Linked DNA regions of Homo sapiens: regions 2, 3, 4 and 5 are each linked to region 1. Evidence: promoter capture Hi-C in 16 types of primary human blood cells and fetal thymus (Javierre and others, 2016). All regions are on one chromosome and are shown on one strand. Each heading gives the region's core, a stretch centred on a gene start or on the middle of the fragment in contact. The rest is flanking DNA. Distances are from core to core; before and after follow the strand shown.

The links. Contacts are between HindIII fragments. The CHiCAGO score rates a contact against its expected background, and 5 or more counts as called.
Region 2: the fragment with the promoter of RPLP0 here is called in contact with a fragment that was not itself captured in region 1 in 1 of 17 cell types (total CD8 T cells); the score reaches 5.5 in total CD8 T cells.
Region 3: the fragment with the promoter of PLA2G1B here is called in contact with a fragment that was not itself captured in region 1 in 4 of 17 cell types (M0 macrophages, M2 macrophages, erythroblasts and 1 more); the score reaches 6.5 in M0 macrophages.
Region 4: a contact is called between the fragment with the promoter of SPPL3 here and a fragment that was not itself captured in region 1, in 8 of 17 cell types (M2 macrophages, erythroblasts, megakaryocytes and 5 more). The highest score is 8.7, in M2 macrophages.
Region 5: the fragment with the promoter of OASL here is called in contact with a fragment that was not itself captured in region 1 in 6 of 17 cell types (endothelial precursors, M1 macrophages, erythroblasts and 3 more); the score reaches 7.8 in endothelial precursors.

The regions. Positions count from the first base shown.
Region 1 is chr12:120,582,923-120,585,622 of GRCh38, forward strand. No RefSeq gene overlaps it. Among named protein-coding and RNA genes, the nearest start is that of POP5, 2.9 kb to the left of the region's middle. RefSeq lists silencers at 1,543-1,912, 1,943-2,012. The HindIII fragment of the contact is 5,644 bases long and covers 1-2,700 here.
Region 2 is chr12:120,199,705-120,202,404 of GRCh38, forward strand. RPLP0 (ribosomal protein lateral stalk subunit P0) reads right to left here and starts at 1,407. Exons shown (of 8, transcript NM_001002.4): 1 at 1,379-1,407; 2 at 1,026-1,127. The coding sequence starts at 1,079. It overlaps PXN-AS1 (PXN antisense RNA 1), which reads left to right and starts at 1,587. Exons shown (of 4, transcript NR_038924.1): 1 at 1,587-1,722. RefSeq lists enhancers at 1-52, 1,093-1,162, 1,563-1,922. The HindIII fragment of the contact is 6,201 bases long and covers 1-2,700 here.
Region 3 is chr12:120,326,445-120,329,144 of GRCh38, forward strand. It overlaps PLA2G1B (phospholipase A2 group IB), which reads right to left and starts at 1,335. Exons shown (of 4, transcript NM_000928.3): 1 at 1,276-1,335. The coding sequence starts at 1,309. The HindIII fragment of the contact is 6,320 bases long and covers 1,051-2,700 here.
Region 4 is chr12:120,903,073-120,905,772 of GRCh38, forward strand. SPPL3 (signal peptide peptidase like 3) reads right to left here and starts at 1,286. Exons shown (of 11, transcript NM_139015.5): 1 at 773-1,286. The coding sequence starts at 795. XLOC_009911 (a long non-coding RNA gene) reads left to right here and starts at 1,623. Exons shown (of 2, transcript NR_131215.1): 1 at 1,623-1,700. RefSeq lists silencers at 636-685, 826-1,045, 1,126-1,485. The HindIII fragment of the contact is 11,636 bases long and covers 1-2,700 here.
Region 5 is chr12:121,037,901-121,040,600 of GRCh38, forward strand. OASL (2'-5'-oligoadenylate synthetase like) reads right to left here and starts at 1,346. Exons shown (of 6, transcript NM_003733.4): 1 at 874-1,346. The coding sequence starts at 1,071. RefSeq lists enhancers at 510-1,011, 1,012-1,511, 1,091-1,510. The HindIII fragment of the contact is 5,031 bases long and covers 1-2,700 here.

The sequences.
Region 1 (2,700 bases), core at 79-2,578:
GTAGCTGGGACTACAGGTGTGTGCCACCACAACTGGCTAATTTTTGTATTTTTAGTAGGGACAGGGTTTCCCCATGTTGGCCAGGCTGGTCTTGAACTCCTGACCTCAGGTGATCCACCCACCTCGGCCTCCCAAAGTGCTGGGATTACAGGCGTGAGCTACCACGCCTGGCCATTTGGCTATATTTTCATGTCAGCTCTTCAGCGACAATACTGTTTTTTAGCTGTGCAGTATTGCATTGTTTGGACGTACCATTGTGAAGTTGGTCAGTATCCCTTTGGTAGACGTTTACATTATTTCTAGATTTTCTTGTTATACCCAATACTTTGATGCATGGCTTTGTAGCTTAGTCTTTATGCCCATCCCTGATTATTTGTAGAAGTGTCTTGGCCTTGGCTGGTCCTGTGAGGTCCGTAATGGGGGCAGCTTTCACAACCTATTTTTGCAAGATCTGGAATGAGTTCTGAATTTTCCCATCTCCCACTCTTCTTGGCCACCTTAAAGGAGGGATGTGGGGGAAGGTAGGGAAGAAAAGAATAGGAAGAGGGAACGCCGTGGCCCTGCCAAGGGACCAGTGACAGTGACGGCACTCCCCACCCAAGAACAACTTTTCACCAGAAAGTGTCTGCGACATCCTCCTTTGGCCAACAGGGGGCGCCAGAGGTCCGCAGTGCGCGGAGAGAGCAAGACACCCCCAACTCCTGAGCGCTCCACCCCTCATAGAAATTTCACTCCTCCCAGCCTTCATTTCAACAGCAATGCTTCGCCCATTTTATAGATGCAGTTGGGGCTCAGACCAAAGCCTCGTATCCAGTTAGGAGCAGGATCAGAATTCGAACCCAAAGCCAGCTGACTCCTTGTTCTGGTCAACACGGTTGGTGCTCTCCCGTGCAGGATTTCACTCGTCCATTTAGTGTAATAAGATGGAGAGACGACAGATGGAGGTTCGATTCGCTACTCCGTCATTTACTGGCCCGGCCAGGTGCTGTCAGGAGGGTTAATTCATGTCTCAGATCTTAGTTTCCTCATCTGTGCAATGGGATAACAATGGTTCCTCCCTCGTGGGTGGATATGAAGTTTAAGCGGGGTCATGTGGACAAAATGCCTGGCACAGCGAGTGCATAGTAAGCCCTTTTTTTGTTTTTGTTTTTTTTGTTTTGTTTGTTTTTTGAGACTGATTTTTAAGACTGTCTTAAAAACAAGAAAAGAAAAAAGAAAATATAGCCAAACAACAGGAATTTTTTGAGACAGTTTTTTGCTCTGTCGCCCAGGCTGGAGTGCAGTGACGCCATGTCGGCTCACTGCAGCCTCTGCCTCCCGGGTTCAAGCAATTCTCCTGCCTCAGCCTCCAGAGTAGCTGGGATTAAGGCGCCTGCCACGACGCCCGGCTAATTTTGTATTTTTAGTAGAGATTTCACCATGTTGGACAGGCTGGTCTCAAACTCCTGACTTCAAGTGATCCGCCCGCCTCGGCCTCCCAAAGTGTTGGGATTACAGGCGTGTGCCACCGCCCTCGGCAAGTAAACGCTGTTCTGAACAAATGATTTACTTTTCCCCCACAGGCACAGCCCCGGGAGGAAGCACATTGGCACGGCCCGCGGCCTCCCAGTCTTGGACCAGGCCCGGCCCCTTCTGGCCCAGGAGGGTGCAGACGCCGGCGGTGGCCGGGCGGGCGGGCTCCCCGCGGTAATTAGCGCGCGCCGGCTCGGGCTGCGCCAGCCGCTAATTATAAGTCTCCTAATGAGGCCGGCGGCTGTTTGCAATCACCCGGGTCCCCGCTGCGCGGCGCGGGAGGCTGCGGGGGAATCCGCCCGCGGAGGCATGGAGGAGGAGCGGCCGTCTTCCCCGGGGCCCGGAGATCCGCTGGACGGCGACGGGGTGTGCCCCGGCCGTGCCCGCCGCCGGAATGCCGGCCGCGAAGGGGCAGCGGCGGGGGCTCACACCCCAACCCCTCCTCGGTTCTCTCCCCAGCCGGGCCGCAGAGCCATTATCCTCCCCAGGTGAGGAAGCCGATGAGGCTCTGAGAGGTGAGCTCACCCAGGTGCGACATCACAACTCACCCAGGTGCACAATAGAGCCCAATCCACGTCTGTCTGACCCCAGCCTGTGCCCTTAGCCGAGTCAGGTATCCCCTGGATCAATGGGGTGGTCACTGTTGTCATTACTGTTAGCATTATTACAGTCGTCCTGGGACTTCTCAGATTCCTTTTTTTTTTTTTTTTTTTTTTTTTGAGATGGAGTCTCCCTCTGCCGCCTAGGCTGGAGTGCAGTGGCGCGATCTCAGCTCACTGCAACCTCTGCCTCCCGGGTTCAAGCGATTCTTCTGGCTCAGCCTCCCCAGTAGCTGGGACTACGGGCACGTGCCACCTCGCCTGGCTAATTTTTTATATTTTTAGTAGAGACAGGGTTTTACCGTGTTAGCCAGGATGCTCTCCATCTCCTGACCTCGTGATCCACCCACCTTGGCCTCCCAAAGTGCTAGGATTACAGGCGTGAGCCACCGCGACCGGCCTTTTTTTTTTTTTTTTCTGAGACAGGATCTCACTCTGTCCCACAGGCTTGAGGGCAGTAGCTCCATCTTGGCTCACCGCAACCTCTGCCTCCTAGGTTCAAGCGATTCTCCTGCCTCAGCCTCCTGAGTAGCTGGGACTACAGGTGCCCACCACTATACCTGGCTATTTTTTGTATTTTTAGCAGAGA
Region 2 (2,700 bases), core at 157-2,656, 380 kb before region 1:
GTTTTTTCTTTTTTTACTTAGTTTTTAATTTTTCCCAATTACCAGGCATGCTTCTGATTCACTAAAATGGTTAACAGGATAAAAAAGGAATGTTCCAAGTAAGTTGGTCAAGAGGAGGGCTAGATTCACAGCATTAAAAGCACCACGTTAAGCAAATATAGCAACATTATTATTTGTAAAAACAATCTAGGCGTGTTTATCCGGATTGTTACACAATTCCTTTGGGTTTTGTGTCTGAAAACCTTCTAAGTGTGGGAAAATGTAATACAAGCTATGCTCTACAATGCTGCCTAATTGCTTAAGCGCAGTACAGTCAGCATTTCTGGGCAAGGGAGACCCACCTCAAAGGCCATCCAAAAGTCATTGGACACTTAAGTTTCTTGGCTGACAGGTCCTAAATATGCAACAGCTTGCTTCCTTACAATGAGTCATTCCTGACCTCAGACCTTCTCAAAAATGGAGTAAAACTGTAATGTGCGGCCGGGCGCGGTGGCTCACACCTGTAATCCTAGCACTTAGGGAGGCCGAGGAAGGTGGATCATGAAGTCAAGAGATCGAGACCATCCTGGCCAACATGGTGAATCCCTGTCTCTATTGAAAATACAAAAATTAGCTGGGTGTGGTGTCGCGCCCCTGTAATCCCAGCTACTCGGGAGGCTGAAGCAGGAGAATCGCTTGAACCTGGGAAGCGGAGGTTGCAGTAAGCCAAGATCAAGCCACTGCACTCCAGCCTGGACAACAGAGCGAGACTCCGTTTAAAAAAAAAAAAGTATAAAGCGCGCTCTTTTAGAAGCCAGACAGACCTGGATACGAATGCTGTCATCTTAGGACCCACTTAACTTGCCTGAGCCCGTTTATCTGCAACAGAAGGGACCTATCTCAGGAAATTGTTAACTAAACAGTATTTTCCCAAAAATGGCCTAATTCAGTAGCCGGTGTGAGTAGACCCTCAGCACATAGCAGCTGACTGTCCCTATTTGCGCTGGGGCAACATGAAGAGCAGAGGCGACCCACCCTGCACTTACGATGATCTTAAGGAAGTAGTTGGACTTCCAGGTCGCCCTGTCTTCCCTGGGCATCACGGCGGTGCGTCAGGGATTGCCACGCAGGGTTTAAAGACGATGTCACTGAGGAGAGACAGGGAGCTCAGGCCTGGTCACGCCGACACCCATCCCGCGGTCCCGGGCCTAAGAGGAGCAGGACACGCGCAATCGCCCGCCGGCCCTGCCTAGGGCAGCGGCCGTCATCTCGGGGCGTGCAAGCCGCCACCGAGGCCCCAGGCGGAACAGAATAGGACTCCATGTTCCCAAAGGCCCCCAAAGACCCCTCCATGCTTCCCGCCGGCGACCCCTGGCGCCCATCTAACTAGCACACGAACCTTCCACGAGGACGCCTGGCGAGAGAAGGGCCTCGCGCCCGCGCGTGCCTTTTATAATGCGAACAAAGTAGCCAATCAGAAACCGCGGATAGCGCTCCTGTCTATTGGCTGCGCCATCGCCCGTCAGACAAAGCTGAACGAATACAGGCAACCATTGGATAATATCGCTGCCACTCCAGCCAACGGAAAGCCGCCTTTAAGTAGGGTCGCGAAGGAAGGCGCTGCCTCGCGTTGGAGGAGCTTGCTCTGAGCTGCTGCCACCTGCTGGGCTGGAGCTGGAGCTGGAGCTGCGAATTCGGAGTCCCGGTTCCCTGTGCCACCTGGCGAGCTCAGCAAACTAAAAGGTATGACGTGGAGCTGAGACATAATTGCACATGCTTAGAAACAGAATGGTTTCTCTTTTTTTTTTTTTTTTTGAGACGGAGTGTCGCTCTGTCGCCCAGGCTGGAGCGCAGTGGCGCCATCTCGGCTGACTGCAAGCTCCGCCTCCCGGGTTCACGCCATTCTCCTGCCTCAGCCTCCGGAGTAGCTGGGACTACAGGCGCCCGCCACCGTGCTCGGCTAATTTTTTTTTTGTATTTTTAGTAGAGACGGGGTTTCATCATGTTCTCCAGGATGGTCTCGATCTCCTGACCTCGTGATCTGCCCGCCTCGGCCTCCCAAAGTGCTGGGATTACAGGCGTGACCCGCCGCGCCCGGCCTCAGAATGGTCTCTCGTCTTCTCTAGTTTTTCCGCCTACCAAAACAGAGGGATCCTTTAAAACCTGGCCGGGCGCGGTGGCTCACGCCTATACTCCCAGCACTTCGGGAGGACGAGGCGGGTGGATCACCTGAGGTCAGGAGTTCGAGACTAGCCTGGCCAACATGGCAAAACCCCGTCTCTACTAAAAATACAAAAATTAGCCAGGTGGGGTGGCGCATGCCCGTAATCCCAGCTACTCAGGAGGCCGAGGCAGAAGAATCGCTTGAACCCGGGAGCTGTGAGCTCTGCAGTGAGCTAAGATCACACCATTGCACTCTAGCCTGGGTGACAGAGAGGGACTCCATCTCAAAAAAAAAAAAAAAAAAAAAAAAACCTAAGTCAGCTCATCTCCTTATCTGCTTAAAACTTTCCGTTTCCTACAGAGTAAAAATCTAAAACCTAAAGTACCTACAAGGCCCTTACCTATCTGTCCCTCACGCCCACTCTGATCATCTCAGATGTTTTCCTCCTCACTTACTTGCTTTCTACCCAGATGATGCTCTGCTGCTTTTCCAGAGCAGGCTTTACTTGGGGGCTTTTGCATTAGCCATTCCCTCTTCCTAGAAAACTAGCCAACAAA
Region 3 (2,700 bases), core at 85-2,584, 260 kb before region 1:
CCATTCTCCTGCCTCAGCCTCCCTAGGTCAGATAGTTTTAAACTATCTGCACTGTTTATCCAGTGAATATTTATTGAGCACTTACTATGTGCCAGGCTCTGTCCTAGGAGCTAGAGATACAGCAGTGAACAGATATAATAATAATAATAATAATAATAATAATAATAATAATAATAATAATCTCTAACCTCATGGAGCTTACAACCTAGTGGGAGAGAAAAACAATAAATAATAAATGTGATAAGGCCGGGCACGGTGGCTCATGCCTGTAATCCCAGCACTTTGGGAGGCCGAGGCAGGCGGATCACAAGGTCATGAGATCGAGACCATCCTGGCTAACACGATGAAACCCCGTCTTTATTAAAAATACAAAAAAATTAGCGGGGCGTGGTGGCAGGCGCCTTTAGTCCCAGCTACTGGGGAGGCTGAGGCGGGAGAATGGCGTGAACCCAGCAGGTGGAGCTTGCAGTGAGCCGAGATCGCACCACTGTACTCCAGCCTTGGCGACAAAGCAAGACTCTGTCTCAATAATAATAAGAATAATAATAAATGTGATAAGTAAGGAAACTGGATACTGCATTAGAAAGGGGAAGAATAGAGCAGGATGAGGAGAATCTAAAAGGGAGGTCACCCAGCCTGGCCAACATGGTGAAAACCTGTCTCTACCAAAAAAAACACACAAAAAATTAGCTGGGCATGGTGGTGTGTGCCAGCTACTTGAGAGCTACAAGTCCCAGCTACTTGAGAGGCTGAGGCAAGAGAATTATTTGAACCCAGGAGATGGAGGTTGTAGTGATCTGAGATCACGCCACCGCACTCCAGCCTGGGCGACAGAGTGAGCCCCGTCTCAAAAATAAAATAAAGTAAAATAAAAATAAAAATTAAAATAAAATAAAATAAATGGGAGATTGGCCTAACTACTTAGTTGAGTAAGGTGGGAGGATCACTTGAGCCCACGAGTTGGAAGCTGTGGTGAGCTATGATCATGCCACTGAACTCCAGCCTGGGTGATAGAGCAAGACCCTGTCTGGAAAAAAGAAAATAAAGGCAAGCTTTCTTAGCTCAGGCAATCTGAGTTCAGACTTGCAGGTTGAAAAAGTGCCAGCCTTGAGGGAACCCCAATAGAGGAGCCCTTAAGCCCCACTGGGAACCTCGAATTGAGACTGCGGGGCTGGCCATCCCTGTTTGCTGTGGCCTGTGGCCCCCATTCCAGAGGAGTGAGATCTTAGCTCACTTGGGAGAGAAAGGCGGGTGGAGCCGGGGAGACTTGCCTACCTGTGAGCAGCACAGCTAGCACAAGGAGTTTCATCTTGCAGTCAAGGTGAGAAAAGAACTGAGATGACCAGTCTCAGGTATAGTCTTATAGTCAGTCTCCACACAACCCTGCCCAGATAAGGCTGGAGTGTTTGCTTTGCTCTTGGCTGAGTTTGGGGCTGGCCTTGAATCTGTCTGTTGCAGGAATGACCCTGACGATTTGCCAGCATGGGATCACTGGAAAATATGTTATGCATTTGTCCTTAGCAACTGTTAACCAAAGGGATGGTTTCTGGAGTTTTCAGATCTTACAATCTTGACCCTCATACCCACCACTTTGTACTCAGCCCAGCTTCACGGGCTGGTTGGGGAAAGCAAAGCCGTCAGTTCAGTCGGACGCTGGGATAAGGGAGACAAGAAGGAAGTGCAGCCTGGGCAACATAGAGAGACCTCATCTCTAAAAAAAAAAATGTTAACCAGGTGTGGTGGTGGATTGCACCTGTGATCCCAGCAACTCAGGAGGCTGAGATGGGAGGATCTCTTGAGCCAGGGAGGTCAAGGCTGCAATGAACAGTGATTGAGCCTCTGCAGCAGAGTGAGACCCTATTTCAAAAAAAAAAAAAAAAAAAGAAAGAAAGAAAAAAGATCGCTGCCTGCAGCCTCAATGTCTTATCAAGTGCCTGAATCTGTGCACTGGGTCTGGTTGAATAGTCCCATCAGTCGTGCACCTTGCAGATAAAGAGACAGGTTCAGAGAGTTGCGGTAACTTGCCCAAGGTCACACAGTTGGCAAATGACAAAATAGGGCTCCAGTTTAGATCTGTCTGATTCCAAGGCAGAGGTTTTATTTTTTTCCACCACTCCGCTCTGCAGTGTGGGTTTGTGAGAAAAACCTGGGCTTTGGATTCCAAAGGCCTGAGTCTGAATTATAGAATACTAAAGGGCATTAGAACTGTCATATCAGAGGCCAGGCACGGTGGCTCATGCCTGTAATCCCAGCACTTTGGGAGGCTGAGGCTGGCAGATCACCTGAGGTGGAGAGTTCGAGACCAGCCTGACCAACATGGAATAACCCTGTCTCTACTAAAAACACAAAATTAGCCAGGCATGGTGGCTTATGCCTGTAATCCCAGCTACTCCGGAGGCCGAGGCAGGAGAATGGCTTGAACCCTGGAGGCGGAGGTTGCGGTGAGCTGAGATCACGCCATTGCACTCCAGCCTAGGGAACAAGAGCAAAACTCCATCTCAAAAAAAAACCTGTCACATCACATATCTATTTATTTATATATATTTTTTGAGACGGAGTCTTGCTCTGTTGCCTAGGCTGGAGTGCAATGGCGCGATCTTGGCTCACTGCAAGCTCTGCCTCCCAGGTTCATGCCATTCTCCTGCCTCAGCCTCCCAAGTAGCTGGGACTACAGGCACCCACCACCACGCCCGGTTAATT
Region 4 (2,700 bases), core at 36-2,535, 320 kb after region 1:
TTAACTTGCAGGTCCTCCACCTCCACACTTGGCCCTGGGCGCCATTCCTCTGAAAATAATAGTACCAACCCTTACAAAGACTCTGCCCATGCCCCACTGTCACCAACGAATTCCTTTTCCAGAAGGAAAAGGAAACAGGTTCTTCAGGCTCCTCTTCCAACCTCTTCACCAGTGACTCCCCTCCAAGGTTCGTGGACTCTACCCCCGCAGTTTTCCTCCCCTCACTCCCGGGCCTCTGCCCACCTCACCAACTCTCCCTGCGCTCCCTGTCCCAGAGCCAAGCGGCGGCCGCTCCACTCTCCCAACTTAGAAGTTCTGCCTCTATCACCTGTTCTCACTAGAGCTTCCTCTCAGCCCAGCGGCCCACCTTTGCCCTGGCCTGCCTCTCTCCACCCCTTCGAGTCCTCCTGCCCAGGAAACACCCCCACGAGTCAGTTCCGGGGTGCCTGTCGGATTCAACTTCCCATCCGTGGGATTCCCACCCCCGGGGTCATGCTCCCCTTCTCCATCACCTGCTCCGCCCATAGCCAGATGACATCCGCCGCTGCCTCCTCCTCCATTCCCCTTCTCGGACGCCAGGTCCCCGGCCACTCACCGCCCTCCGTGCGCGCCAGCCGCCCCCTCCGGTGGGGAAGAGGGGGGCGTGCACCCCAACCCGCGCCCCCCCCCCACGACACGCACCTGTTCTTCCTCCTCTTCCCCTCGGCGGGCCGCGCCGGCGCCCCGACCCCCACCCTTGCCGCCTCCCGGCCTCCCGGAGCCCCGCACTCACCACGAGTAGGTCTGCTCCGCCATGGCGCTGCCTCTCGTGGGCTCCGCTGCAGGCTGTGGCCGGGCCCGGCGGCGGCGGGCTCGCTCGGGCCGTAGCTGAAGGCGCGGCCGGGGTCCGGTGCTTGCTTGCTTGCTCGCTCGCTGGCTCGCTGGCTGCACGGCGGGCCGGGAAGGCGGCTGGCGGGGAGAGGCCGGGCTCCGAAGCGGCCCCGCTCCCTGGGCCCCGGGGCGGGGCGGGCTCCGCTCTCGGCCTCCCTCACCCGCGGCGGCGGCGGCGGCTCCGCTGCAGCTCCAAACCCAACATGGCGGCGGCGGCGGCGCGGAGAACAAGGGGGCCCTGGGGCGGGCGAACGGCAAGACGGGCCCGCGCTCACTGCGCGCGGGGCCGCGGGAGCGCCGCGCTCGGGCGGCGGCGGCGGCGGCCGGGGGACATGGCCGGCGGGCGGAGGCGGCGGCGACTGAGGGGGGCGCTAGGCGATGAGGCGAGGCCACTCGATCACACCCGCCGAGGGGAGGAGGGGCGGGGGCGGGGGCGAGCCTTGGCCCCGCGCGGGTCACGTGCCCAAAACACGCTCACGTGATGCGCGCCCCGCCCCTCGAGCCGGGCCCATGCGCAGAGACGTCGGCTCCTGGGTTCTAGGCGGCTGCTGCTCGCACAGCCAGAGCAGTTGGGCCGCCTCCCGCTGCCTGGTGCCGCCCCCCTCCCCACGCGGAGATGTCGCCTCGGGTACCCTCTTCCGCCCCTCTCCGAGGGGCTGCTGCACCAGCCAATCGGGAACCCCGATGCGCGTCTGTTGGCTGCCACTCAGCTGTCAACCGTCAGTCAACAGTCTGCTGGCCACGGGCCCCCCAACTGTCAGTCAACCTGTCAGTCAACAGGCAGAGGGCTGCATTCCTTCGTTCGTATGTTCCTTGGTTCATTCATTCAGGTAGCAAATATTCCAGGCAGCCAACCTTTATTGCGCCCAGGCCCGGCACCAAGTCGAATACCCCACGCTTGCCTTCACAGAATCAATCAACAGATATTTGTTGGGTGCCAACCATGTGTCAACTCACTCTGCCTTCCTAGAGCTTACATTCTAAAGGAAGAGACATAGTCCAAGCCCACAAATAAGATAATTTCAGATGCTGCTAAGTTTTACAAAAACACATTTTGTAACACAAGGTGAGGGGACAGAGAGTGAGCAGAGGTGTGGGTTACTTTAGATAGGGTGGTCAAGGAAGGCCTCGCTTAGGAGGTGACATTTGAGCTGATATTGAATGATGACAGAGAGCTGGCCTTGCAAAGATCCACAGGAAAAGAGTTCCTGGCAGAGGGAACAGCAAGGGCAGAAGGCTCAGGAAACCGTCCATTTGGAGGTCTGGAAACCGGCACAGAAATAAACACGGTAGAGCTAGACCAGAGACCAACAAAGTGAATCTGGAGCTTAGATGGAGAGAGAAGAGAGAGATTAATTGAGGCCCCAGGTACTGCGGAATGCTTCCCCAGGAGTGGATGAGGCCGTCTGAAAGGGTGAGAGGCTTATCAAAGAAAAGTCATTCTTTTGGCCGGGCGCGGTGGCTCACGCCTGTAGTCCCAGCACTTTGGGAGGCCGAGGTGGGTGGATCATGAGGTCAGGAGATCGGGACCATCCTGGTTAACACGGTGAAACCCTGTCTCTACTAAAAATACAAAAAATTAGCCGGGCGTGGTGGTGGACGCCTGTAATCCCAGCTACTCAGGAGGTTGAGGCAGGAGAATGGCGTGAACCCCGGAGGCAGAGCTTGCAGTGAGCCGAGATTGCGCCACTGCACTCCAGCCTGGGCAACAGCGAGACTCTGTCTCAAAAAAAAAAAAAGAAAAAGAAAAAGAAAAAGAAAAAAAAAAAAGAAAAGGCATTCTAGAAAGAAAGAATGGCATGAAGTAAGGCCCAATTCCTGGTGAGCTTG
Region 5 (2,700 bases), core at 96-2,595, 450 kb after region 1:
GGCAACATTGGTGAAACCCTATCTCTACAAAAAATACAAAAATTAGCTGAGCATGGTGGTGCATGCCTGTAATCCCAAGCTATTTAGGAGGCTGAGGATCACCTGAGCTCAGGGAGATTGAGGCTACAGTGAGTGGTGATTGTGCCACTGCACTCCAGCCTGGGTGACAGAGCGAGACCCTGTCTCTAAAAAAAAAAAAAGTCATTTTATTATCAAAAAGTTAAAACACATAGAAAAATAGATGATACAACTAACACTCATATACCCAACTAGTTGATTCAACAAGTCTAAATTCCTGGCTACATGTGCTTAATCTAAGCCACGTTAAAGTAAATTATAGGCACCAAGGAACTTTGTCCCTAAAATACTTCAGTGTTCGTGTCCAAACAAAAGACAACCTTCTGATAACCACAAAACTACTGTTACACCTAACAAAATCAACAATGATTTCCCATATCAGATATATGTACTATCTGATATCTAGGCCAGTTGTCCCCAAACTATATTTTACAGATGGTTCATTCACACTAGGATCCAACCAAGGACCTCGCATTGTATTGGTTCTGAGCCTCCATTTGCTAATCTGTAAACTGGGCAAAGAATAGTACCTATCTCACAGAGTGCAAGAATTAGAGATAGTGTATGTTAAGAGGTTAGTCCAGTGAGCCCCCAAATGTGAGCTATTATTACTAGACTCATTCTACTCAAGGCAGTGGTGCAGTGGGGTGTAGACAGCTAGGTGGGATGGGGTATTCTGAGATGTCATCAGCATGGGCTAGGGATAAGGAGGACAGGGGTCCCCAGCATCCCCAGGGACGTGGACTCTGATACTGGGTTTTGTCTTGCGTGGGGGCTGGAGGAGCCCAGTCTTACCTTGACTACCTTCAGCACCCGCACATCCTGGTCCAGCCCACGCTTCCCCTGGAAATGCTCCTGCCTCAGAAACTCCTCCACGGTCCGCACAGCGTCTAGCACCTCTTCCTTCCACTCCCGGTGGGGCTGCAGCCACTGAGCCACGAAGGAGTCCAGCCTGGAGGCTGGTGTGCTATACAGTTCCTGCATCAGTGCCATCTCTGTCCCGAGAGTACCGCTGCTGGGCAGATATATAGCCAGGCTCCTACCCAGCTCCCTGGCACACACCTCCTTTTTTAAGGTAGCTCCTCCTCAGCTGCCCTCCAGTGCTCTGTGGGAGGAGGGACCCTAGCAGAGAGGAAACCAGGTGTGACGGGCTGACTCCAGGTCCCCCTTCTTGGAGACACCCTTGCTGCAGTAGGGGCACAGGAGGACTCTGGGCTGAGGCTGGAATATCTGGGGCCACCTTAACAGGCTGGCCGTCTAGTCAATCTGTCATCAGTTTCGATTCTCAACTTTTAGAGTTCTCCTTTATGACGTTGGGAAACTGAAGTTGGATAGTGTTTGACCCCAAAGGAGGCAACTTGCCCAGTAGGTTGGGGTTGGATAGTTGTTAGTCAATTCAACTGCTTACATCTGTCTAAGGAAATTGAGGCTTGGGAACGGAAGGGACTCACTAGTGTTCAGGTGGTGGAGTGAGAATCTGGAGCCCAAGAGAACAGACTGGGAATTCTAGTCTACCTGTGCCAGACTCTAACCTCTTTGACCCTCACTATTCATAGAGTGGGTTTTTTTGTTTTTTTGTTTTTTTTTTTTTTTGGCCGGGTCTTGCTCTGTTGCCCAGGCTGGAGTGCAGTGGTGCAATCTCAGCTCACTACAACCTCTGCCTCACGGGTTCAAGCGATTCTCCTGCCTCAGCCTCCCTAGTAGCTGGGACTACAGACATGTGCCACCACGCCCGGCTAATTTTTTTTTTGTATTTTTAGTAGAGACGGGGGTCTCACCATTTTGGTCAGGCTGGTCTCAAACTCCTGACCTCAAATGATCCGCCCACCTCGGCCTCCCACAGTGCTAGGATTACAGCGTGAGCCACCGCGCCCGGCCCATAGAGTGGGTTTAACAGGTATTATGATTCACGCACTGAACCAAGAAGTTCATGCATTGAGCCAAGAAGACAAAATAAGATGAGGTTCCTGTTCCAAGGGGACTCCCAGAACGGTGGAGGAGACACAGAAAAAAGAGACTGCAAAAGTCCAGTGCGATGAGTTAAGTAGGAAAAAAGCATGAAAACATGAAGCCGGCAGATGAGTTTCATTTGGTGTTAGCAGACACCTGCTTGAGAGGAATCTTAAAGACTGGGGATCCGGGCTGGGCATGGTGGCTCATGCTTGTAGTCCCAGCACTTTGGGAGGCCAAGGTGAGAGGATCACTTGAGGCCAGGAGTTCAAGACCAGCCTGGGCAACATAGCTGGACACCTGCAACTTCCCAAACTCTGAATAATATTAAGTGCTCCAGGGCTTAGTCCTGGGTCCTTTTCTCTTCTTGTTCTAGACTTACTCCCTTGGTGATTTCAGCCAGCGTTTAAATGTTTTTACTCTGGCAACTTCCACATTTTAATTTTATTTTTATTTATTTGTTTATTTTTGAGATGGAGTCTCACTGTCTCGCCCAGGCTGGAGTTCAGTGACACAATCTCGGCTCACTGCAACCTCTGCCTCCCAGGTTCAGGCGATTCTTGTGCCTCAGCCTCCCAAGGAGCTGGGATTACAGGAGCCCGCCACCGCGCCTGGCTAACTTTTTGTATTTTTAGTAGGGACAGTGTTTCACCATGTTGCCCAGGCTGGTCT